4 separate regions of the Homo sapiens genome follow, and regions 2, 3 and 4 are each linked to region 1. The links are contacts of gene promoters, found by promoter capture Hi-C in blood cells and fetal thymus (Javierre and others, 2016). All regions are on one chromosome and are shown on one strand. Each heading gives the region's core, a stretch centred on a gene start or on the middle of the fragment in contact. The rest is flanking DNA. Distances are from core to core; before and after follow the strand shown. Region 1 holds the start of SCG5-AS1 (SCG5 antisense RNA 1). Region 2 overlaps FMN1 (formin 1). Region 3 overlaps FMN1 (formin 1). Region 4 overlaps FMN1 (formin 1).

Evidence for each region. The method cuts DNA at HindIII sites, captures the fragments that hold promoters and counts their contacts. A CHiCAGO score of 5 or more calls a contact.
Region 2: a contact is called between a fragment that was not itself captured here and the fragment with the promoter of SCG5-AS1 in region 1, in 5 of 17 cell types (M2 macrophages, M0 macrophages, endothelial precursors and 2 more). The highest score is 9.6, in M2 macrophages.
Region 3: a contact is called between a fragment that was not itself captured here and the fragment with the promoter of SCG5-AS1 in region 1, in 3 of 17 cell types (M1 macrophages, M0 macrophages and M2 macrophages). The highest score is 8.2, in M1 macrophages.
Region 4: a contact is called between a fragment that was not itself captured here and the fragment with the promoter of SCG5-AS1 in region 1, in 1 of 17 cell types (M1 macrophages). The highest score is 5.1, in M1 macrophages.

Annotation. Positions count from the first base shown.
Region 1 is chr15:32,671,736-32,674,503 of GRCh38, forward strand. It overlaps SCG5-AS1 (SCG5 antisense RNA 1), which reads right to left and starts at 1,330. Exons shown (of 4, transcript NR_135505.1): 1 at 1,255-1,330. All of the region lies in intron 10 of ARHGAP11A-SCG5 (ARHGAP11A-SCG5 readthrough), which reads left to right. All of the region lies in intron 2 of SCG5 (secretogranin V), which reads left to right. The HindIII fragment of the contact is 5,358 bases long and covers 1-2,768 here.
Region 2 is chr15:32,914,528-32,917,295 of GRCh38, forward strand. The region is part of intron 10 of FMN1 (formin 1); the gene reads right to left. Among named protein-coding and RNA genes, the nearest start is that of GREM1-AS1, 200 kb to the left of the region's middle. The HindIII fragment of the contact is 4,132 bases long and covers 1-2,768 here.
Region 3 is chr15:32,883,295-32,886,062 of GRCh38, forward strand. All of the region lies in intron 16 of FMN1 (formin 1), which reads right to left. Among named protein-coding and RNA genes, the nearest start is that of GREM1-AS1, 170 kb to the left of the region's middle. The HindIII fragment of the contact is 7,337 bases long and covers 1-2,768 here.
Region 4 is chr15:32,807,743-32,810,510 of GRCh38, forward strand. All of the region lies in intron 17 of FMN1 (formin 1), which reads right to left. All of the region lies in intron 1 of LOC107984089 (a long non-coding RNA gene), which reads left to right. Among named protein-coding and RNA genes, the nearest start is that of GREM1-AS1, 90 kb to the left of the region's middle. The HindIII fragment of the contact is 1,215 bases long and covers 715-1,929 here.

The DNA.
Region 1 (2,768 bases), core at 80-2,579:
TGGACCTTAGGAAGGAGATTTCTGGGTCTCGGGGTTTCTCTTAGCCCCCAGTGCCTGGTGCCTGCGGCCGGTGTCGCCTCAGGGAGTCCCAGGCTGTTCTGTGGCCTCCAGAAGGAGCCACCCCGCCCCTTCCTCGCCCCACTCCGCTTTGCCTTCCCTTAGCCTGGGGAGCCTTGCCGCCTCTCCACCTTCTCTCCTGGTCTCCTCGGGCGCTCTCGCGCTGGCACCTTCAGCTCTGTCAGAGTCTGAGGGGAAACCAAAGGAGGCCAGGCGGTGTCTGGAATGCCCCATCCGACTGCTTCAGGCTCCCAGACCGCTGACAAAAGGAAAACTGGTCCGTCGCTTTCTGAATGATGTATCGAGACCGCAGTGTATTTTTAGCATCTGCTGTTTGTGGTAACATAAGTGAAAACTGCTGGACCCGTTCCCTTCAGCTGAATGGCTGGTATTCAGGGGCCTGTGCCCGCTCCCTGCCAGACGCTCCTCACAGAACTCCCTTTTTACGAGGTGGGCGACTGGCTCCCTGGCACCAGGCTGCCCCACCACAATTCTTTATTGCCCAGCGCCAGTGCCCAATTGCATGAATCCCCAGGGCTGCAGGCAGCGTGAGGGGTGCGAATGGGACGATGCTGGCTGCGGGCTTGTCAGGGTGTTCCCAAGTTGTGTGGCAGAGTCTGGAGGGCAGGGGTTGTCCGGATGTTCCAAACCTCCAGCGTGAGGTGGGCACTCAGGTGCGAAGGAACCATGGTGGCGAGGCCCACAGGTGGCGTCCCATCCCAGAGCCATTTTGCCGGGGCCTGGCTCTGCAGTAGTCACTGACACCGGAGATCCCCTGAGTGACCTGGAAACTATGAGAGACCCCAGGTACCCCGACAGGTCATTCTACTAACTGTGGCTGTGGAGCTCCAGCTCATCTTTGGAAGACGGAAACGCACTGGAAAGGGTATGAATGGACGCAGAAGGCCTCGTGGGGGCTCTCTCAGTGCCACTGTAGAGTGAACACAGGGCTGGAATCCAAAATAGCACCAACTTGCTGAGTGGCTTTAGGCAAGAAACCTTTCCCCAGGTCTCACTTTCTCACTTAGAATGATGAATAGTGATTCTTGTCCTACTGACCTCACTAGGACGTTTTTAATAAGGATGAAAGCACTTTGAAACTGTTGAAACCATAACATCACAAAAAAAAAAAAAAAAAAAAGAGACAGAGTGACGAAGTAACGCAGGTCCCATTTATGTTCTTAATTTCTGACCAACCTTAACTTCCATCAAAACTGCTTCCACTAGCCCCAGCCAGGAGAGCCGTTGCATCGTGGTGGGACATCATCAGGCTCTCCAACGGACATCGCTTATACTATGAGAACTCACGTTCAAGGGAGGTGTTTACCTCTAATTCCCACAGAACTAGCGTAAGTAAAAAATGGGGCAGCAGGATCCTTTCCTTGCAAAGTGTGAGCAAGTGCCTCTGTAGAGTAAAACTTTAAGTAAAAGGACTACAACGGCAGTGACAGCTCCTTTATCTGAAACTGCAGACTTTTAAGAAGGTTCTTAGCAGCCACACCGATGTCACAAATTCCATAAAGCAAGATCACCTAGGCACTCTCTCGGAGCTAATTTTATCTCATTTTATATATAATTTTAATAAGCCTGGCTCTCTCATTTTCTAGCCCCTTATTACTGAAAATGTGGCTCATGGACCAGCAGCATCTGCACTATCTGGGAGCTTGTGAGGAATGCAGAATCTCAGGCCCCACCCTTCACCTTGAATCAGAATCCACATTTGGATAAGATCCCCGTGTGTGTGTGTGTGTGTGTGTGTGTGTGTGTGTGTTGTGCGGGGGAGGGTAAAATTAGAAGAGACTTGCAGGGCCTAGGCGCACTCTCAATTTATTGTATTTCATTATGGAAAGGATTTGGGATGACTAGAATTAATAACTTAGAAGGAGTGAGGTGACAAAGAACATTAAAAACTATTGCATCTGGGACCATTTAATATAGGTTTGTTTGTTTGTTTGTTTTGAGACGGAGTCTCACTTTGCCGCCCAGGCTGGAGTGCAGTGGCATGATCTCGGTTCACTGCAACCTCTACTCCCCAAGTTCAAGTGATTCTCCTGCCTCAGCCTCCTGAGTAGTTGGGATTACAGGCGCCTGCCTGTAATTGTATTTTTAGTAGAAATGGGGTTTCACCATCTTGGCCAGGCTGGTCTTGAACTCCTAACCTTGTGATCCACCCGCCTCTGCCTCCCAAAGTGCTGGCATTATAGGTGTGAGCCACCGCACCCGGCCCATTTAATATAGTTTTATATCCGAATGCCCTTTAATACTCTGAGAATACACTGTTACAACACTGTATAGTCATTGATATTCCCAGTAATAGTCCCAAATTATCAAGAACAGGCAAAGTCATATTCTCCTGCTGTTTAAAGTATTTACCTAATGTTCATAGTGGAAAATTCTCCTTTAAAATGGTTAAATAAATCTTGATCTTAAACCGATGCTTCAGTGATCTGAATACTACATGAAACAGCACGTTCTCTCTAAAGAGATAAGTGAGATGGTACTATAATCGGAAACCTCTGTTAATTCGGATTTTGTTTTTTATGCACATTTTAGAGAGTCAAATTATATCAAGATAAAATATGATAACAGAGATTTACTCTAAAATTAAACAATGAAAAAAACCCTACCAGTGCAACAAAAAGGCCATGGCTGTTCAGAGCCAAGTAAAACTTTGGGGGTCAGAAGGTATTTAATTTTCATATTTCTGTTTA
Region 2 (2,768 bases), core at 181-2,680, 240 kb after region 1:
AACCTGTAATACACTTGTTATACAGGAGAGAGCTGTTGAGCAGTTATGAATGGAGGAGTAAATTGGACAAAATTATATTACACACACAAAAAGTCAAAATTTGAAAAGACTAATTTAGAATCTATTGTAATGGGCAAGAGGTAGCAAAAACTTGAATAGTGTGGACAGAAAGGATAGGGCAAAAAAGAAAGACACTACAGAGCACTATTATAGTGACATTGCTAACTAGCTCTGGGGACTTAGCCTGAAACCACTCTGAGGCTTTGAGCCTAGGTTTAGGGGAAGAGCTTTGTACCATCCCCCCAGAAACAGGCAGAGGAGTCTAAGAGGTGAGCATGACTACTGATCTGTCCCCCAGGGACTGGGAAAGGAATGGAGTAGAGAGGAAAGGACAGGTAAAAGAAGTAGATAAACAGATGAACTTAGGGCCAATGCCAAGTATTCCACTGAAGTTTCTCCTCTTCCACGGAAGGATCTTAAAAATAAAATCTAAAAAGTAAAAGAAAATTCAGAGGTAGCAGAAGCAATATCAAGAGATTGATACTGAGCCTAGAACTTATGGAGATTAAATTAGTTGTATTATTTCTAATAATATTGGCCTGGGAAGGTTAGGGTATCAGCCAGAAGTCTGAAAAATAAAAAGGCCTACCAAGTCCTAGGATGCCTAAGAGAACTGCCTTACATGTACATAATCCCATGTCTTAGTCACCAAATATAGTTTAGGTTCCTAGAGAGCCAGAATCCACACCTGATAATTCTATTCTCAAAATACTGGAACAACGTATTAGAGAATCAATGAATGCTCTCCGATTAAGTCATTCTTGCAAGCACTTACCATTAAACTTATTAGCCATTACATAAGCCCAATTAATTAGTTAACTAATTTGTAATCATAATGATCACAATGTGGAAAGAAGTCAGTCTTCAACTAAACTATTTTCGGCGTCACCCAAGATCAGATCGCTCCCTCCATTTTATACTTTGAAAACACTCACTTTCTGTCTCTGTCTCTTCCACGCATGTGTGTGCACACAGGCACACCGCTCATAAACTGAACCAACAAATACAAGCCTATGCAATTTTACAGCAAGCCTCAAAGCTCTGATACAGTAATTCCAAGTAATCCTACTTTTGTTTCCATCTGTATAGGTCTCATTATACTAACACTCCTGCAGATGGTGTCAGAAAGGTGAAGTGTCAAGTCCACAAAGGGGAGACCCCAACAGCTCATTGCTACTGCAATATCAATCACTGCTGGTGGTTTTTACTTTTATCTCCTTCCCTCCTTAGTTGTCCCACTCACACTGTCAGTTCGGTTAGAATATTTCACCTACACCTCACAATATGTCAAAAGGAAGTAGACACACGCTGTGAAAAGCTGGTAATTTTATTAGATTCCTTTACCTTTAAAAATCTGTTACTTGGTCAAGTCTGGTTTCTGGGCTTCTTTTTTGCAGGGAAATTGAGGCAAACATTTTTATGTGGTCCTCTGGTGCCTGCTCTGTACCACAAGAATTATATACACAAGGATCATTAGAGTAGTGTTTCGCCCATTAAGATATAATAACCGTCAGCAGGGACAAAAAGCAGATCAGTATCACAAATTCAAACTAACAGGCACACATAAAAACTATGTGCCTGCTTTAGGGCACATGCAAGGGGTCAGGGTCTCATACAACAGGGAAAATTCCCCCTCCGGGTAAGAGATGGCTTTTCACAAGACCAGGGTTAAGTAGAAAGAACATGCAGGATTCTCTCAGCTCTCCAGCCATTTTTCAACCCTGAACACTTCTCTCTCCAAGTGTACCATGCCCATATAAACAAAGAATGCACTTGCTGTTCGAAGGGCTTCTAATGAGTAAAAAGACAGGCAGAGTTATTTAAGGGAGTTGTTCTCTTTGACTGAGGGAGCACCTCTGAGCAAGAAGCATGGGACACGGTGGTGAGAAAGGCATACCTTGTATAGTCTGTTAAGATTAGCCAAAGTAAATCTGGTCATCCGAAGTGTGGGAGATGCCACAGGTAGGTAGGGTTGGGTTGGCTCACCAGGTTTCGGCTGACGGTGGTTTTGAGAATGATTTGTACGTAGCCTGTTTTATTCTTCTTTTTATTTCCTTAAGTGACTGATGTAAGCCTCTTGCACAAAGCGGGTATGTAATAATGTTTTGCAAATGGACTAGATATAGTCTGGTCCAGCCCAGGAAAGCAAAGTTTGATAGGATTACTTGACTCTATTAGCAGAAATTATTTTGTTTACAATGTTAACTCTGCAACAGCCAAAATAAAACTTAGCTGCTTTGCCCAAAATACTGGTATTTTTCAGAACTCGACAGAAATTCAATCAGTAAGAGAAAGAGAACAGAGCAGGGAAAGAAATATAGAAGGACTTGGTTTTTTGAAACTCTCATGTCACCTATATCCCACAAAACTCTGACAAACCTACTCCGTGACCTCTACAAAGGCAACGATAACATGGGGTTCATGGGAAGAGGCAGTAGTACAATCTGAGAGTTGAGGAAAGGGAAGGCAGAAACATCTTCCCACAGTTTTCCCTCCCAACAATGAGGTCATCCTTGAGAGCAAACACCAAGTCTATGAAAAAAACTGCAAGAAGTGGAAAGAAGGGGAGCCAGTAGAGAGGGGTGTGGAGCGTGGAAGGACCACTCGGAGGCAAGGCCAGGGGACCGTACAGATCTGCTCCCGCTGAAGAGCTCTGTAACAAGCCTCTTCAAAATGGTCATAGTTCTCCTACAACCTATACCTTGTGT
Region 3 (2,768 bases), core at 166-2,665, 210 kb after region 1:
GAAATTTGAGACTAGCCTAGGCAACACAGTGAGACCCTGTCTGTACAAAAAATACAATTTACAAAATTAGCTGGGCGTGGTGGTATACATCTGTAGTCCCAGCTGCTTAGGAGGCTGAGGTAGGAGGATTGCTGGAGCTCAGAATATTGAGGTTTCAGTGAGCCATGATTGTGCTGTTACTCTCAAGCCTGGGCAATAGAGCAAGAACCTATCTCAAAAAAAAAAAAAAAAAAAAAAAAAAAAAAAAAGAATGAGATCAAGCGGTAAGTAATGACATGTGGCCTTGTTTCTGCTAAGTCAGACCTGCCCTCCCCTACGTTACTAGAGATCCTGACTCCTGCAGGCAGGACCCAGTAATATCATTTCACCAACAACCGTGTTGCTAGTACAATCAATATCCTTTCTTCTTAAAGTACCTTTTACACAACTTATGCTCTGTAAAAATATTACTAAGTAGACAATGAAAGGGAAAAGAAAGCAAGCCAATGTTTCATGCTTTAAGTTAGGAAATGCTGTTTTAAACAGCATTAAACTTTTTTTTAACTACAGAACTTCCCAGAGGCTTTAATAAGCTCATGTGCTTTGAATCCCTAGGATATGATTTTCGTACAGAGCATGTCCAGGTTTATTTGATCATAGACTCTTTCAGAGAACAACAGTTCCAGTTCACATTTCAGGTAATATTTTTAGGTGCTACTATTTGACGAATCCTACATCTATAGTTTCAGCAATGCTGCACGCGCATGTGTGTGTTTGTGTATGTGTGTGTGTCTGTCTCTGGTATTAACTGGTGCAATCAGAAAGAAGAGTCCACTCCTTGGTGTATTAGTTTCTGATTGCTACTATAATAAATTAGCACAAACTTAGGAGGCTTAAAACACCAGAAATATATCACCTTTTAGTTCTATATGTTAGAAGTCTGACATGGGACTCACAGGCTAAACTCAAGGTGCTGACAGGGCTGTACTCCCTTTTAGAGGCTCTAGGGAGAATCTGTTCCTTGCCTTTTCCACTTCTAGAGGCTTCCCACATTCCTTGGCTCACGGCCCACTTCCTCCATCTTCAAAGCCAGCGACATTACATCTCTCTGATCATTCTTACGTCGTTATATCTCCCTCTGATCATAGCCAGGGAAAGTCCTCAGCGTTTAAAGACTGACTTTAAAGATTCATGTGATTAGATTAGGCCCACTTGGACGGTCCAGGATAATCTCCCCATGTCAACATCAGCAAAGTCCCTTTTTGCCATGTAAGGCAACATGTTCACAGATTCTAGGGATTAGGGTTTGGACATCCTTGGGGGGCATTATTCTGCCTACCACATATGGGTGGGTAAGAACACCCTGAGAGTTCCAGCCAGCAAGGACAAAGAGGGAGAATGAAAGTAACTATTGCCATTGTTTGTGTTTTCTCAATTATTGCTTACAACTTCACAGTATCAGGGAAATTGAAATTATTGTCTTGTTAAGGGATGTAGAACAATAAACAAAATATGGAACATGTTCCCAAGCACCAAGAACTTGGTTCTCTCTTTACAATGTAGAGAAGCAAGCACAAGTGCTCTGTGAATTAGATACTCCACAAACATAGCCAGCTGGCCTCTCAGCAACACCGGCTGATTATACAGGCTGTGCACTTTCCAGTGAAAGGTACATGCCCTTAATCAGCTTTATTGAAGCTGCCCTCACTAAGAAACTGTGCAGACATTATTTCCTATGATGCAGGTCCTATAACTGTCCCATTTTACAGGTGAGAAAGTGAATACTTTCTACGATTATGCTACTTGACAAGCTGTTACTTTCACTGAACCAGTAAAACATACACATCTGAACTCAAAGCCTGATCTTAGTCCTATGTAATGTGCCTATTTGTATGTCTATTTGACAATCCATCTACCTGGACTTCTTCCCCTTTCCAATTCCAACCCAAAGCAAGTTCCTTCCTGTGACTCTATCTGATCTGACAGTCTACATGTGTGGTTTTGGGAGTGTGTGCACACGTGTGCATGCTTGTGTATATATGTTCAGTAACTCTAATTTTTTTCTTCATGAGGCTTCACATTTTGAATGCCAAAACTTTCTGTCTGATCTCCAATCAGATGTGGTGACTTCTGGGTCACAGGCGTGATATGTATTGAACACATGCCTTAGAAGTCGTATCTAGTTTCAAAACTTGACTAGATCATCACCTCTGAAACACTGGCAAATTACTTGAGCACCACAAACTTCAGCTTTCTTATCTTGTGAGAAGTCAAAAATAGTATCTGCCTCACAAGGTCACTGCAGAATTAAAAGAGGTGATATAGATAAAGCACTTGATAGATAATAATGACACAATAAGTTGCAGTTGATACTATTATCAATTCCATGCTACGTTTACCTGCATAAAAATGCCATTCAAAGTTCTTGCCTCTCTGAAAGATGCTTAATGACAACTTCTACTTAAATCAGTGACATTAGTATGACCAATAACCATAGGTTAATTCACATTAGGTTAAGGTGTGTTAATACTATTTTTTTTTTTTTTTAAAAGACTCTGCCTGCCTGGAGATCTAGGGCCTGATACTTCTTGAAATTTGCTAATCACATCTGGTTTAGCTTTAGACATTTTCTGGGATTTTGCCAGCAGCTACGACACTTTAATGGCTACAATAAACCTCAAAGCCTCATCAAATCTTTGCTGTATGTGTGAAAATTATGTCCTCTTCAATTAAACATTCAATCTCAGCTCACACCAAGGCCTTATGGAAAAGGAGGTGAAACCTGAATG
Region 4 (2,768 bases), core at 72-2,571, 140 kb after region 1:
AGGTATTATTAAGAGCCAATGCACACTGCAGAAAACTCTGAGGGTTTAGGGAAAAGGGCCTTCAGGAAAATGAGAAGAAATTAGAGATTTAAATGTTCCCTAATTTTGCCCTTGTACAGATACAAAAGGCATCTACCTTTATGGTGTGACTTGGAAGCTCTAACAGCATGAAATATTTCTCCTACTTGAATGTGTAAAATTTTAAACCAGGCCATTACACATTTTAAGTCTTCAAGATGCTCTAAGCAAAACACAAATACATGACCTGGAAGAACCATGTTTAAAGACTGGAGTCACAAACTCAAATTCTAATACCATCAACAAATAAGGTCACTGTGGGCCAAGTATAAGAATCCCGGTGTTCCAACGTTCTAGTTCTAGCTTTTCAATACGGGAACTATATATCATACAATTGCTCCACAAGAACAATTCTGAAGTTCATAGTTCCACAGCCTACCAAGTGAAGCAGAAATGGCTTTCTATTCCATGGCTATGGGCCCAAGGAATGCAAATCAGAACTCATGATAACTAACTGCCAAGCTTTAACCCTAGCTGTGTCACCTGAGTGTCATGAGCCAATCACAGTGTCCTGTGTTTCAGTCTCCTGCTCTGTCAAATGGAGATGATGATACCTACCCTCCCACATAGTTGCAGCCAGTCTTTGCAGTCAGGTCTTTGACAGTTCAACGTCATGCCATGGCTGCTGGGGGTTCAAGCTTCCAGTGGGTTGGCTGTTTTGCCAGAGTTAAATGAAGTGTAGCATAGAGGAAAGAGCTTGGGTTTTGCACCAGGTGGACCTGGGTTTAATTTCTGCTCTGATACTTATTAACTGGGTGATCGTCAGAAAATCACTTAACTCCACTGAGCCTTATCCGTAAAATGGGAATAATAAGATCTACCTTGCAAAGTGCTTGTGACTATGAGATATACTGAACGTGTGAGATTAATCTAGTGACTGACATATGATGGGCATTCCAGAATGGCAGCCATTTATTGTCTATTGGCTAGAAGCAAATGCTAGTAGTCACTACTCTAGCTTTCTGACTTTTTGGCATGGTTATCACAAAATTGCACACAACATGCTTTCTTTAGAATGTTCATAACTGCTTTCAGTAGACAAGAATTTTGGTTGTTATCATTTATGCTCAAAACTTTAGTGTTTTTTTTTTTTTCATTTCACTCACTGAGCTGATGTCCTTAGCATGGCCTGTAAAAGGCTTTTCTACAAAAGGGTGGTTCCCTATGTCTGACCTAAAGTCATTTTATTTGCTGTTTCAGCTCATTTTGTTTTATTTCATCCTCAGGAGAAAGAGAAAAACTTATTTATAATTTAACAAATAACTGGGAGTCATGGGGGTGGATGTGAGGGGAGAGGTACTTAATGATTACTCTCACCTGTTTTTTCCCCTTAATGACCATGGAGTTCTGTAATCTTTGACCTGATTAACTGGATCACTTCCCCAATACCAAATAAAAGACAATGATACAGGAGTCTTTTTTTGAGAGGTTAAGTTTTCTGAGAGCTAAGATTCCTTCCTTAACCTCTAGGCTCTATATGGTGACCTGTAACAGGTTCCCCTCATTGCACAGTAAATTCAATTCTCTTTGTTGCCACCAAAACTGCCATTTTAGAAGGCAAAGTGAACTATGCCCCTTTTCTGCTTAATGTTCTCACTGGTTCCCCCTCTGAAGACAAAGTGCATTTGCAGTTCACAGTGTGCCCCTCACACCTGCCTCCTGCCATCCCCATACTATCATCCCCAGAGCTCCTGCTGCGTGGGACTCATGGCTGGTCTCTGGACTTAACTTGCTGCATGGTGTCTTTATTTTTGGGCACTTTGCTCCTTCTGTTTCTAATGCCTTCTCTTCCTTGCCCTTCTCCCTTCTCCTACCCTTCTGTTTGAATGTCTTCTCTTTCTTTGAAAACCAAGCTTGAAAATCTCCTCTGAGGGGCCCTCCATGCCTCTCCCCCATAATGTGGTGAGCCGTTCTTTCTGTGGAGATCCAAACACACTATCTCCCCACAATTCCTTATCACAGCACACAGAATGCTATGTCAAGGTCACTGGCTTGCAGCTGGCTTTTCCCACTGGACTCTGTGCTCCTTTCAGAGTTGCAACCAAAATCTGTTTTCAGAGTTTTTCTCTCAACTATTACCTAGCAGGTACTCAAATACTTATTTTTTTTTTTCTTTTGAGACAGGGTCTTGTTCTTTCACCCAGGCTGGAGTGCCGTGATGCAATCTCAGCTCACTGCAACCTCCATCTCCCGGGTTCAAGTGATTCTCCAGCCTCAGCCTCCCAAGTAGCTGGGATTATAGGCACGCACCATGGCTGGCTAATTTTTGTATCTTTAGTAGAGACAGGGTTTCACCATGTTGGCCAGGCTGGTCTCAAACTCCTGACCTCAAGTGATCCATCTGCCTCAGCCTCCCAAAGTGCTGGGATTACAGGCGTGAGCCACCGTGCCCAGCCTTGTGTACTTATTTGACAGATGGAAAAGTACACAACAGAAGAACCCATGTTAGCAGAACACAGTCCCTACTCATTAAGTGCCTGTTTTTTGGCACAGAAATTTCTAATCTTCCATCTTTTGTTTGCAACAAAATAGTGAAGAGTAGAGTAGAACTGAAAAGCAAGAGATTACTATGCCCATCCTATGTCCTGCTTTTAGACTGATACATTAACACAGGCACAAACAGCACTAACACTATAGGGAGGCACAAATAGCATTAACCCTCCAGTTTCGTCTGTATCAGATTGAGTCTT